Linked DNA regions of Homo sapiens: region 1 is linked to region 2. Evidence: promoter capture Hi-C in 16 types of primary human blood cells and fetal thymus (Javierre and others, 2016). All regions are on one chromosome and are shown on one strand. Each heading gives the region's core, a stretch centred on a gene start or on the middle of the fragment in contact. The rest is flanking DNA. Distances are from core to core; before and after follow the strand shown. Region 1 overlaps SCAMP1 (secretory carrier membrane protein 1). Region 2 holds the start of BHMT (betaine--homocysteine S-methyltransferase).

Region 1 (7,512 bases), core at 759-3,258, 650 kb after region 2:
GTGTTTCTTCAAAAAAAAAAGCTTCATTAAGATAAAATCTGTATACTATGCATTTTACCCTTTAAAGTGTACAATTCAATGATTTTTAGTATATTCATAGAGTTGTGACTATAATATCTACACAACCTAATTTTAGAATACTTTCATTACCCTCACTCCCCACCCCACCCATAAGCCACAGGCAAGCTGTAATACATTTTCTGTCTCTATATATTTGCCCATTTTATACATTTCACAATAATGGAATCTATACAATATGTGGTCTTAATAAATGCTTCTTGAATATTACTCAGAACGTTCAAAAGGAACATCTATCACTAAGAAACTGAAGAGTTTATGAGGCATTACTGTGAGAAGATGACATCAATCAACAACTGGAGATGAAAATGACCAATTGAAGATGCAACTAAAGGTTTATGCAATGCATTATCTTTTCCAATTCCAAGATTCTAGGTCATCTAGGTAGAGAAGAAACTGAAATAATAAGGGAAGATGAAATTCCCAAAGAAAATGACTGCATAGCACAAAGAGCCGATTACATTTAAGACCTTAATTTATGAACTGGATGAAGAAATGGAGGAGAAAGAATAGCCAGAGAGTCAAGAGAATTAGAACATCATTGCAAAGTCTTAGCAGAGGAGCCATCTGTGGTGTAGAAAGCTACAGAGGTTAAGGAGGAGGAAAACTGGAAAAGGGATTTAGTAACATTAGAGAGCTGAGTGTCAATGGTATGTGTGTTTGGTGCAGAAGAGAAGTTAAAAATTTCAAATAGAGAAAATATGGAAGAACGGACACAGTCTAACCTTCGTAGGGTTTTGAGAAGGATAAAAGACAAATGTCTGAGTAAAGTACTGAAAGAGTAAAAGTGGTTTTAAATATAAGGTAAAATTATTTCTATGCATTCCTCATACATAGTCTCAAGTAATGAAATGGTAAAAAAAATTATAAGGACTTATTTTCTTTAAAGTGAGACCTATCAAAAAGTCTTTTTCATTTAAAACATAGGTGTTATTCCCAAGGTCTCAATATCATGTTTGAATACATATAAAATATATCAAAATTACATATATCCAAGACAAAATAAAACTTTAAATAAACAAATAAAAACACTAATTTACCTTCCTCTATGTAATGATTTTTTTTTTAAAGCTGTGAAAACAGACATGGGAATTCTACAGGAAGAAGTGTAGCTAAAACAACTGGGCAGTTACAAATCCTAAATGACTCCTAAACCTGATAACTAACTTGAGTAAAGTTTCAAGATACAGACTGGGTGTGGTGGCTCACACCTGTAATCCCGAACTTTGGGAGGCCAAGGCAAGTAGATCACTTGAGGTCAGGAGTTACAGACCAGACTGGCCAACATGGCGAAATCATCTCTACTAAAAATACAAAAAAAATTAGCCAGGTGCCACATCTGTAATCCCGACTACTCAGGAGGCTAAAACATGAGAATTGCTTGAACCCAGGAGGTAGAGGCTGCCGTGAGCCAAGATCACACCACTGCACTCCAGCCTGGGCAACAGAGTGAGATTCTGTCTCAAAAAACCAACAAAAAGTTTCAAGATACAAAATCAACATACAAAAATCAGTAGCATTTCTAAACACCAACAACGTTCAAGCTGAGAACCAAATAAAGAACCCAATCCCATTTACAATAGACACACACACACACACACACACACACACACACTCCTACACACATCCAGAATACATTTAACTAAGAAGGTGAAAGAACTCCATAAGAAGAATTGCAAATCACTGATGAAAGAAATCACACATGACACAAAGAAATGGAAAAACATCCACATTCATGGATTAGAAGAATCAATATTGTTACAATGACCATACTGTCCAAAGCAATATATAGATTCAATACAATCCTATCAAATTACCAACATCATTTTTCACAGAAGTAGAAAATACAATTCTAAAATTCATATGGAACCAAAAAGAGTCTGAATAGCTAAAGCAATCCTAAGCAAAAAGAACAAAGCCAGAGGCATCATATTGCCTGACTTCAAACTATAGTGCACAGTGGCTCACACCTGTAATCCCAGCACTTTGGGAGGCTGAGGCGGGCGGATCACTTGAGGCCAGGAGTTAGAGACCAACCTGGCCAACATGGTGAAATCCCGTCTCTGCTAAAAATACAAAAATCAGCCAGGCATGGTGGTTCACGCTTGTTAGTCCCAACTACTTGGCTGTCTGAGGCATGAGAATCACTTGAACCTGGGGAGGCTGAGGGTGCAGTGAGCCGAGATTGTGCCACTGCACTCCAGCCTGGGCGTCAGAGCAAGATTCTGTCTCAAAAAAGAAAAAAGACTATGGTAAGCAAGCAGCATGGTAACCAGTACAAAAACAGACCAATCGAACAGAGAACCCAGAAATAATGCCACACACCTACAACCAACTGATCTTTAACAAAGCTGACAATAATGAACAATGGGGAAAGGACACCCTATTCAATAAATGGTGCTGGGTAAACTGGCTAGCCACATGCAGAAGAATAAAATTGACCCCTACTTCTCACCACATACAAAAATTAACTCAAGATGGATTGAAGACTTAAATGTAAAACCTCAAACTACAAAAATCCTAGAAGAAAATCTAGGAAATACTCTTCTAGACATTGGCCTAGACAAAGAATTTACTACTAAGACCTCAATAGCAAATGGAACACAAACAAAAATTGACAAATGGGACTTAAAGAGCTTCTGCATAGCAAAAGAAACACTAAACAGGCTGGGCGTGGTGGCTCATGCCTGTAATCCCAGTACTTTGTGAGGGCTGATCATTTGAGGTCTGGAGTTCAAGGCCAGGCTGGCCAACATGGTCAAACTCCATCTCTACTAAACATATAAAAATTAGCCAGGCATGCTGGTGCACACCTGTAATCCTAGCTACTCAAGAGGCTGAGACAGGAAAATTGTGTGAACACGGGAGGTGGAGATTGCAATGAGCTGAGATTGAGCCACTGCACTCCAGCCTGGGTGACAGAGTGAGACTCTCTTTCACAAAAGAGACAGGAAGACAGAAAGAGAGACAGATAGAGGAAAGACAAGAAAGGAAGGAAGGAAGGGAGGAAGGAAGGAAGGAAGGAAGGAAGGAAGGAAGGAAGGAAGGAAGGAAGGAAGGAAGGAAGGAGAAAAGAAACCAAAAGAAAGAAAGAGAGAATAAACAGAGTAAAGAGACAATCTACAGGATGGGAGAAAATATGTGCAAACTATGCATCTGACAAAGGACTAATATCCAGAATGTATAAAGGACTTAAACAAATCAACAAGAAAAAAAAAACCCCATTAAAAAGTAGGCAAAGGATATCAACAGACACTTCTTGAATGAAGACATACAAGCAGCCAACAAATGGAAGAAAACTCAACATCACCAATCAGAGAAATGCAAATCAAAACCACAATAATTCCCATCTCACACCAGTCAAAATGGCTATTATTAAAAACTCAAAAAACAACAGATGTTGGCAAGGATGCAGAGAAAATGGAATGCTTATATACCGTTGACGGGAATATAAATTTGTTCTACTTCTGTGGAAAACAGTATGGAGATTTCTCAAAGAAGTAAAAATAGACCTTCCATTCAACCCAGCAATCACCCTATACTGGGTATCTAACCAAAGGAAAAGAAATCATTTTATCAAAAAGACACCTGCACTCATATGCTTATTGCAGCACTAGTCACAATAGCAAAGTCACAGAATCAACCTAAGCGTCCATCAATAGTAGACTGAATAAAGAAAATGTGATACATATACATCACGAAATACTACACCACCTAAAAAATGAAATTATGTCCTTCGTAGCAACATAGATGCAGCTGCACGCCATTATCCTAAGTGAATTAACACACTAACAGAAAATCAAATACTGCATGTTCTCACTTAGAAGTGGGAGCTAAACAAAGGGTTCACACAGACATAAAGATGGAAACAGACACCGGGGACCCAAAAGGGAGGGAGGGAGAAGAGCAAAGCTTGAAAAACTATCGGGTACTATGTTCACTATTTGGGTGATGGGTTCAATAGAAGCCCAAACCCCAGCATTATGCAACATAACCATGTAACAAACCTGCACATGTTCCCTCTGAATTTATAATAAAAAATTAAAAAACAAAACAAAAACCTAAGAGATATATATGAATAAAATGTACATATCACATAATAATTTTACTTCTATTTATTAACAGGCTAATATCCTTCATATCAAAAAAAAGAAATTTAGAGTATATTTAAAAATCCAAATTTTAAAAATGAGGCTGACTCTTTAACTCATGAAAGCCTTCAGTTAAAATGATTTTAAAATATTCCCTTTTTACTGAAGTTTAAAATGTGATGCAATTTTCTAAAATGTACTTATGCATAACTTTTAATTGTAAAAAGTAATCCTCAGAGAGCAAACTCATACAATAACGATAAAATGGCTTCAGGTTACACCAAATTATAGCAAAATAGGAAAATGAGAACTTTACATCACGTTCACTATAAAAATTTAGACATAAAATTTCACTTACTTTTTTGAACATAACTAGTGAGATGACTGCTGATGCTGTGAAAAGTGCTGCTATGATTATCATCATGATTCCAACAGGAATATTTTGGTTGAGACCAGTAAGGGATGAAATCCAACCACTAAAAAGTAATAAAAAGTGTAATTAGGCAAAAGTTGATGTAAACTTTTTAAAAATAGCATAATATCTAACACATATTCAACACTTATCAGCCAGGCAATATTCAAGTTCTTTATGTGTATTAGTGCATTTAATTCTCACAACCCACCCAATAGGATAGATGCTGTTTTAAATCCCCATTTGACAAATGAGGAACTGAGACATTCAGTAATCTGCCCGAGGTCACACAGCTTATAAATGGCATAGTCTAAATTCAAAAGCAAACCAAACTCCAGAGTCTCAAGTGTTTAATTCCAGACTGTACATTTTTTAAGCTGTACATTTTTTAAGCTTATGAGTTTTGAATTTATTATTACTCTTTTTTTTGAGACAGAAGCTCGCTCTGTTGCCCAGGCTGCAGTATAGTGGCATGATCTCGGCTCATTGTAATCTCCGCCTCCTGGGTTCAAGCGATTCTCCTACCTCAGCCTCCTGAGTAGCTGGGATTACAGGTGCGTGCCACCACGCCTGGCTACTTTTTGTATCTTTAGTAGAGACGGGGTTTCACCATGTTGGTCAGACTGGTCTCGAACTCCTGACCTCGTGATCCACCTGACTCGGCCTCCCAAACTGGGATTATAGCGTGAGCCACTGCACCTGGCCTATTATTACATTTTTTTAAATGTTTATTTTCAATTCTGCTGAATTATGAAAGAAGATATTTATAAACCATATATCCAACAAAGGATTCACATCTAGAATATACATAACTTTCAAAGCTCAACAGAATACAAAAATTAAGAAAATGGATAAAAGACATGCAGAGACATTTTACTAAGAGGACATAAAGACGACAAATAAGCACATGAAAAGATGTTCAAAACCACAATGAGATATCACTACACACCTATTAGGATGGCTAAAATAAAAAGTAATAACCACTAAATGCTGGTGAGGAAGTGGAGACTAAATTGCTCATAATTGTTGGTGGGAGTGTAAAATAGCACAAGCATTCTAGAGAACAGTTTGTCTGTTTCTTTAGAAAACTAAACATGCGGAGAGGAGCCAAGATGGCCGAATAGGAACAGCTCCGGTCTACAGCTCCCAGCGAGAGCGACGCAGAAGACGGGTGATTTCTGCATTTCCATCTGAGGTACCAGGTTCATCTCACTAGGGAGTGCCAGACAGTGGGCACAGGTCAGTGGGTGCGCGCACCGTGCACAAGCCGAAGCAGGGCGAGGCATTGCCTCACTTGGGAAGCGCAAGAGGTCAGGGAGTTCCCTTTCCGAGTCAAAGAAAGGGGTGACAGACGCACCTGGAAAATCGGGTCACTCCCACCCGAATATTGCGCCTTTCGGACCGGCTTAAAAAATGGCGCACCACGAGATTATATCCTGCACCTGGCTCGGAGGGTCCTACGCCCACGGAGTCTCGCTGATTGCTAGCACAGCAATCTGAGATCAAACTGCAAGGCGGCAGCGAGGCTGGGGGAGGGGCGCCCACCATTGCCCAGGCTTGCTTAGGTAAACAAAGCAGCCGGGAAGCTCGAACTGGGTGGAGCCCACCACAGCTCAAGGAGGACTGCCTGCCTCTGAAGGCTCCACCTCTGGGGGCAGGGCACAGACAAACAAAAAGTCAGCAGTAACCTCTGCAGACTTAAATGTCCCTGTCTGACAGCTTTGAAGAGAGCAGTGGTTCTCCCAGCACGCAGCTGGAGATCTGAGAACGGGCAGACTGCCTCCTCAACTGGGTCCCTGACCCCTGACCCCCGAGCAGCCTAACTGGGAGGCACCCCCCAGCAGGGGCACACTGACACCTTACACGACAGGGTATTCCAACAGACCTGCAGCTGAGGGTCCTGTCTGTTAGAAGGAAAACTAACAAACAGAAAGGACATCCACACCAAAAACCCATCTGTACATCACCATCATCAAAGACCAAAAGTAGATAAAACCACAAAGACGGGGAAAAAACAGAACAGAAAAACTGGAAACTCTAAAACGCAGAGCGCCTCTCCTCTACCAAAGGAACGCAGTTCCTCACCAGCAACGGAACAAAGCTGGATGGAGAATGACTTTGACGAGTTGAGAGAAGAAGGCTTCAGACGATCAAATTACTCTGAGCTACGGGAGGACATTCAAACCAAAGGCAAAGAAGTTGAAAACTTTGAAAAAAATTTAGAAGAATGCATAACTAGAATAACCAATACAGAGAAGTGCTTAAAGGAGCTGATGGAGCTGAAAACCAAGGCTCGAGAACTACGTGAAGAATGCAGAAGCCTCAGGAGCCCATGCGATCAACTGGAAGAAAGGGTATCAGCAATGGAAGATGAAATGAATGAAATGAAGCAAGAAGGGAAGTTTAGAGAAAAAAGAATAAAAAGAAATGAGCAAAGCCTCCAAGAAATATGGGACTATGTGAAAAGACCTAATCTACGTCTGATTGGTGTACCTGAAAGTGATGGGGAGAATGGAACCAAGTTGGAAAACACTCTGCAGGATATTATCCAGGAGAACTTCCCCAATCTAGCAAGGCAGGCCAACGCTCAGATTCAGGAAATACAGAGACCACCACAAAGATACTCCTCAAGAAGAGCAACTCCAAGACACATTATTGTCAGATTCACCAAAGTTGAAATGAAGGAAAAAATGTTAAGGGCAGCCAGAGAGAAAGGTCGGGTTACCCTCAAAGGGAAGCCCATCAGACTAACAGCAGATCTGTCGGCAGAAACCCTACAAGCCAGAAGAGAGTGGGGGCCAATATTCAACATTCTTAAAGAAAAGAATTTTCAACCCAGAATTTCATATCCAGCCAAACTAAACTTCATAAGTGAAGGAGAAATAAAATACTTTACAAACAAGCAAATGCTGAGAGATTTTGTCACCACCA
Region 2 (7,355 bases), core at 3,970-6,469:
TCAAACTCTTCCAGACCCCGATAACCTGAATTCATTGCTGAATTAAAGCTGCTTCCACTGGGTGCAAGAACCATAACTTTGGGCATAAACTTTAGCAAGAGAATGAGGCTGGTAATTTGAGTATCCTTTCACCTACTTTTTCCTGACCACAAGGTTCCTACTCTAACCCATAATACAATAGGGCTAGTCCCTTTTACTCAATGACGTCGCTTATACTAATTGATTACCTTCATTTTATGGCCTTAACTCCTCATTATATTACTTATTTTAAAATCATAGAAGCTAAATGTACATTGATACATGATTATATATGTACATGGCATAGTTGGAGATTAGCCTTATAGATTTAGCTTGAGAAATGCAAGTTTTTAAAATTCCACAGCAAACTCTAAAAGGTCAAATAAAATTCTGAAGTATTTCTTCAGTTGGGTAAGTTTGCAGCAAAACCATTTGGGGGCAAAATATGACCTGAACCAACATGAAGGTATTGATAAACATGTTTCAATTAGTAAGGGTAGTCATGTATTTTGATGCAAAAATGTATTAATGTGTTTCAATGGGAGCTGCTTCAGGGCCCATTGGGAGTGTTACATAATATGCTACATTTGTACTGTATTAACTTTCTAACATCCCCAGATTCCTGGATTCCAAGATATGTTTGACCCCAAAATGTGGTTTGGACAGGGGATTGTGGGCCTGTAGCATAACCACTCCTTTCTTTTTGCCCAGAACATGAAAAAGTCAGGCCCAGGCATGAGATATATAAAAATGTTGCAGGTGAAGTCCAGCTTGCAGGAAGACTCTTCAGGGGTTTCCATCAATTCTAGCTACCACTCAGTCTAAATTACAAAAGCGCTGCAGATACACAAAATCATTTGCATAAAATAGCTCAAGCGATCCTCCTGCCTCAGCCTCCCAAGTAGCTGGGACTACAGGAGTGCACCACCATGTCCAGCTAATTTTTAAAAAACTTCTGAGAGACTAGGTCTCCCTATGTGCCCAGGCTGGTCTTGAACTCCTGGGCTCAAGTGGTCTTCCCACCTCAGCCTCCTGAGTTGCTGGGATTACAGGCATGAGCCTCCACACCCGGCTCCTTTATGAGAACTTACAATAGAGCTCTGCACCAACCTGCTTCTGGGTGCTCCACAGCAGCTTCAGGAGTCCAGGGTCCTGCCTTTACGTAGCCCCTCTTCTCCAGTGCAAAGACAAACCCTCCATCTCCAATCACAATCTCTCCAGCATTTAAACGTTCTAGGATGCCCTAAAATTACAGATGAGGGAGGAAAAGGAGTTACTTGAGTGTTTAAGATAATTTTCTATTTTTATTACTTTTGCTAACATATTCTTGGAGATGTGTGGTTATTTTAGAATTTTCAGAGAAAAATGTATATTTTATATATACATTTATGGCTATCTATAAGACAAACAACCAGAATGCTCATAAAATAAACATTTGTGTATTCCTTTGTATGTGCTGTGGGTGGGGGGGTCTTTCTTAACACGTTAAAGAGTATTTGAAGAACACCGTGGGAGGTGTGTTTGAAGAACTGTCTGCTGAGGGATTAAATGAAAAGATTTTGTTGTAAAGCCTCAAATCTGCACTTAAGCACAGATTCTTAAAATGGTAAATACTAGTCTTCTTACTCTATCAACAAACTAAAGAGAGGGTTAAAAAATTGTTAAAGAAGTTGAAATGGCATAGAATGCTATTTTTTTTTTTTTTTCTTAGAGACAGCATCTCACTATGTGCCCAGAGGAACTTGAACTCCTGGGCTCAGAAGATCCTCCAGTCTCACCCTCCCCAGCAGCCAAAACTACAGGCTCGTGCCACAGTGCCCAGCAATGCTATTAAGCCATTTTATTTTAAGACTGAAAAGGTGGCCAAATCACTCAAAGACTTCTATCTTTGGTGTTAAAATTCAGTTTCCACAACAGTAGCTATGCTATACAGTCCAGGTTATGAGTGTGCACATGCTGTACTCTATGATGAGAACAAGGAAGAGACAACTAAAGTATTTGTTGAATGATTTTTCAGCCCAATCTCCATACTTATTCCATTTACAATACTGTGCAGTAATCACCCTGGTGTTGTTCTATGGATAACTTTGGAATTAAGTATTTTGAAAGGGTTTTGTGAATTACAAAGTAATTCTCTAGTTTAATAGATTTTTTGTAATTTCAAAGAATCATAGACTTTAAAAATAAATAGTACTCAATTCAATTGAGATCTCTCTCTCATTTCACAAATGAGAAATTAAGACCCAGAGTCCCTGAGTAATTTATACATGGTTTTCCAGATGGGGAGCATAGGGCTTCCTGACTCTTTTATGCTTAAATAACATCTATATTTGATTTCAAATGGGATTGGGGGTGGTGGGACAGCCCTGAAAAAAACTGTATAGTGTAAAGGAATAACTTGGGACGTATTTACCCAGTGTGTTCCACTTACTACCAATAACAGTGGATAAAACAAAAGCTGACATAATAACAAGATTCCAGAAATCTGTGAGAGGCAGTCACAGGATTTTGCATCCCAATTCCTTGCCACCTTCTTAGAACCTCCCTCATTTTCATTCTCTTCCCCTCCACTGCCCCTTCCCATGCCATTTGGACAGCTGGTGCTCAGAGAGAGGAAACAATTGACATTTCACCAGACAGAAGCAAAGTGGTAGGATTATGCTGTGTGTTCCCTAATATACCTTTCAGATCAAAACATTTTCAAGCCATAGTGTTGAAGCCTTGTTATCTTATGGGAGCCCATAAGATAACAAAGCACAACAAAAATATAAATGGCTCACACGTCATTTTGAAATCCAAATATTTGTCATGATTGCAATGTATCTAAATGTCACATCTGAAAACTGCAACTTTGATTATGACCTAATTAACAACAACAATAATATATATATGTATACATATATATAAATATATATATATATATACTACTGCCAGCACAGTTACATAAAAAACATAACAAGGGTCACTTAAATGAGATATGACTTGCTACTAACTTTTATTTGGATAAAATAATTCATGACATTTGGGCAGTTAGCAGCTCCCATTGAACGTGTGTGTTTTCAAATTTTAGTACCACAGCATTTTAATGTGCAGCATAGCTAAGGATCTGATGCTGGGTGGCAGGGTGGGTAGTGGCGATTCAATTACTATGTGGCTCATGCACTTGTTGAGTGGTTACCTCTGGAAATATGATCTCTTACATTCTATTGCATTTTAAAATTATCTAGACTTCAGGATTTTCTGTTCCCAAGCTAAACAGACTTTTTAAAAGGTGGAATGTGCTATGAAAAAAATATACCATTTTGTGAAAAAGTATTACAAAACAGTATATGTAATATCAGCCCATTTTTGTCTAAGAAGTGCATATTTGCCTCAACAACAAACTAGCAGAATATACACCAGAATTTAACAGGCACTGTTCTTTGTGCTTTCCCTCATTGTTTATAATGAACATGTGCAAACTTTGTAACATTTATTTTAATTTTAAACTCAAATGTGTAGACATGTTATTGTCCATATATTGTTTTAACACTGACATATGCACGGAAACAAGTTACTAGGAAACTGTTTTTTCCATCTTACATTCATCTGTTGCTTAGATAATTCTACAAAGATAATTCTTTAAAATGTTAGATTTTCTGAGTTTGAGTTTGGGGAATAAGTTAGACTTACGTGGCTATGAGAATGGGGACAAACAAAAAATATCTATATCTATAGGAATCATCCTTCCCAGTCTCTGTGGACTATTCATTTAGTACATTTAGGGACTGGCGAAATTCTCACCCTCCTTTGACTGGTGATAGTCCATAGTCCTTTGCCATCTCAACACCCACTCATGCCATCAACATGCATCCACGATGCTGCATTTAGAATCTGTAACCGAATTGACCTTCTTCCTTGTGTAGAGGTCTTTTTGATTTGGGAGGCCATCCCTTTAGAAACTGGGCACACCTCAGCTGGTTCTCCAGCAGGGCAGGCACTGGGATGAGAGCTGGACCTTTCTCACTGTCCTTACAGCCCAGAGGATACAGTTGGCCTGGCCCCATCTGCCTCCCTACCATTTTCCGGGGGCCTCTGTCGTGCCAGGCCTGGGACTGGGCATTTGACCAAAAGGTCAAGTTTATTCTCTCCTCCCTCCATCCTTCTCTCTCTCTTCCCACCTGTCCAGTCTCATTCCACGGCAGTCAGTCCATCTATCCATCCGTTCCCCAAATTAGAGGAAGGCCTACCGTCTGGACTGAAAATACCCCTCCCAACAAGCCACTGGGATAGCCAAGAGATGGACTTGTTCATCTGGAGCTGGAATTGGGTTTTACAATTTCATCAACAGCCCTTCCTCAGTATCTTACAGCCACTCTGCCCATTTTTTCTTAAACCATGTTTTCGAGGCTGACATTTCGGATGACATTTTTCTGTCATCACGGACATCAAATTGCCTGTGAAAATCTGCAATCACCCAACCAGCGCCTGGGCCTTGGGTGCAGCGAGAACCCGGCGGGGAGGCGGCCCCGACACCCGCGGTGCAGATCCAGGCGGGAAATGTCGGAGCCAGCGCCGTGCACTCCTCCCTGTTCTGGGCGCGCCGGGTGCAGAGGGCGCTCGCGGCGGCCTCGGACACAGATGCGGAGGGGCTCCGTGGGGACGGGATATCGCGCCTGCGGGGCTAGGAGCAGTATCTCTAGGGAGTTTTCTGGTCTTGGGGTGCCAGATTCAGAAGATATTGGAAGGCTCGGAGTTCTGGGGACACCCAGCCGTCAGGGAGGGCTCAGAGGGTGCCTTTGGGTCTGAGAGGCAAGGATCACATAGATCTGGGGCGCACTCTGGTCCAAGCTGGGCTGGGGCTGGAGGGGACAGAGGCGCTCTGGGGGCGCGCTCTGAACGTGGGGCAGGAGTGGGGAGGCTCAGAGGCGCCTTGGGGTCCTGCTGGAGAAGTTCTGGAAGCACATTCTGGTCTGAGGCTGAGGGAGGGGAGGGAGTAGGAGGATGATGGGTACCAGGCAGGGTCCGAGGGCCCCTCTGCGCTCCCAGAGGCTGGGATACAGAGCAGGTGGGAGGGGAAGGAGAGCGCCCTCGGGTCCCCTGGAGACTCACCTTCTTGGCCTTTTTGCCCCCAACGGGTGGCATCTTCGTGGTGTCCAGACAGGTGGTCGACACGGATGCGGACCGACTAGGCGAGCCTTCCCGCTGCGCAGCCCCGAGCTGCTCCGAGTCCGCAGCCTGCCTCTTTATACCCGCAGTTGGGCGTGGGGAGGGCCTCCCAGCCACCGCGCGGGCCAACACGGACCTTGGGCGGGAACACGCCCACCAGCCCTTCATCAGGCCCGCCTCCTGTTGGGAACCTGGCCTGCCAAGGAGGTAATCCAGATTGTTCACCCAAATGGGTGGAACCACCGAAAAGTAAGATAAGAAAAAGCGAGGTTGCCACTCGCTCAGATTTCAAACCTGCCTAGCGTCCCTTTTGCCTCTTGCACTTTTGCCCCGACCCTGACCGTCCTCTCGCTCACCTGGGATCATGCACCATGGCCCACTTAGGCTGCCAGAGAGGCCTCTGAGAAGTCCATTCGATGCTCAGATATTTGTCAAAGGCCAAGGCGTCAAGATTATGGAATCAGGGGATGAAGTCCTGGAAGATCTTCAGCCTGGAGTGTGATCTCCTGTGTGATATACATCCAGTATAACGGGACACAAATGCGGCTTTAGTAGAGGAGTCCAATACTAACCCTGAATTGGCGGGTATGTTCAAAATGACCTTCTACCCCTATACCCAAACATGCCTTGCAGTTTCTAATAACACAGTAGTTTCTAATAAGAATATGTTTGTAATATTTAACAAGGACAGACTTTTAACATTTATAAATGGAAGCAGAAATGTACTTTGAAGACTTCAAAATTCAGCATGAAAACGATATAAAAACATAGACATTAGAAGAACTGGAGGGAATAGAGATGTTAACAGTAGTTACCTATTGATGGCGGAATTAAGGCTTGTTTTATTTTATTCTTCATGTTTCACTGTATTTTCCAAAATATTTTTATAATGAGAATACATTGATTTTAAAATAATAAAAACATTACTTTAAAAAATGTACAGCATGGCCTGCACGGTGGCTCATGCCAGTAATCCTAGCACTTTGGGAGGGTGAGGCGGGTGGATCACCTGAAGTCAGGAGTTCGAGACCAGCCTGGCCAACATGGTGAAACCCCCGTCTCTGCTAAAAATACAAAAATTAGCCGGGCATGGTGGCAGGCGCCTGTAATCCCAGCTACTCGGGAGGCTGAGGCAGGAGAATCGCTTGAACCCTGGGGGCAGAGGTTGCAGTGAGCCGAGATTGTGCCATTGCACTCCAGCCTGGGCAAAAAGAGTGAAACTCTGTCTCAAAAGAAAAAAAAATGTACAGCATGACAGTAAATAGCCTACAGAACAATGAAATATCTGAAACACAGTTCAGAAAATTTTACCCAAATAAAAGCATGTAAAAAAATTCTGTATGTGGACAAACAACCTCCATTTCAACACATGCAGAGAAGAAAGTTACTGCAACACCTGATGAATTAATACAAATTTAACGGCTAAAGTGACATGTGTTTGAAATACAACTGAGAAAGTAAAAATGTCCTTTTGCTTCTAAGTATGTCAAGTTTAAAATGGAAAAAGAAATGAAAAGGTGAAAGGATATACTGTTATTCAAGTGATCTATTATTTCATTGGCTCCTCCACCCCCAACTGTGATCTGGGGTCAGCAAGAATGAGGCATGAGGTAAAGTCATTCTTCACAGTACCTAGATTAAAAAAAAAAAACACCTTGAAGGCATTGGAGTATCCGAATAGGTAACAGTTTAGTTAGTTAATGCGTTAACTAGTTAAGGTATTCACCTGGTGAGCACTGGTGAGATGAACAGGTCTAGAGTGAGCCCCGCGGTGGCTGCAGGGAGCAGCCGCAGTCGTGGGTATCTGGCACTAGGAGGCGGTATAAGCACTCTAACACTCAATAAAGGCTGAAAGCCGACGTTCCCAATTTCAGTTTCCTCAAAATGTGGCAAAACTTGGGAGAAATTTTAAACTAGTAGCATTAAATTTAGAAGTGAATTATGAATTTTTAATAGGTAATATAGACACATGGCAAAAATTTTACTTTTTTAATCTTTATTTCTCCAAGAACAAACATGGCAAAAAAAATTTAGAAGCCTTTCCCCAGCTGCTGTTGCAGATCAAGTCCCCTCCCTGGAGGTAACCACTATTGCCTGTTAACCGTTCTTCCAGAGGAATTTTATGCATACCTAAGTGTATAGATGTATATAAAAGGATTTGTACTCGAACGTAGGGAATTTTCGTTTTT

Evidence for each region. The method cuts DNA at HindIII sites, captures the fragments that hold promoters and counts their contacts. A CHiCAGO score of 5 or more calls a contact.
Region 1: a contact is called between a fragment that was not itself captured here and the fragment with the promoter of BHMT in region 2, in 1 of 17 cell types (naive B cells). The highest score is 5.2, in naive B cells.

Annotation. Positions count from the first base shown.
Region 1 is chr5:78,456,378-78,463,889 of GRCh38, reverse strand. It overlaps SCAMP1 (secretory carrier membrane protein 1), which reads right to left. Exons shown (of 9, transcript NM_004866.6): 8 at 4,528-4,645. Among named protein-coding and RNA genes, the nearest start is that of SCAMP1, 100 kb to the right of the region's middle. RefSeq lists an enhancer at 5,950-6,559. The HindIII fragment of the contact is 3,969 bases long and covers 24-3,992 here.
Region 2 is chr5:79,109,673-79,117,027 of GRCh38, reverse strand. BHMT (betaine--homocysteine S-methyltransferase) reads right to left here and starts at 5,219. Exons shown (of 8, transcript NM_001713.3): 1 at 5,110-5,219; 2 at 1,129-1,261. The coding sequence starts at 5,142. It overlaps LOC124901012 (a long non-coding RNA gene), which reads left to right. Exons shown (of 2, transcript XR_007058837.1): 2 at 1,730-2,221. RefSeq lists an enhancer at 4,049-4,893. The HindIII fragment of the contact is 17,379 bases long and covers 1-7,355 here.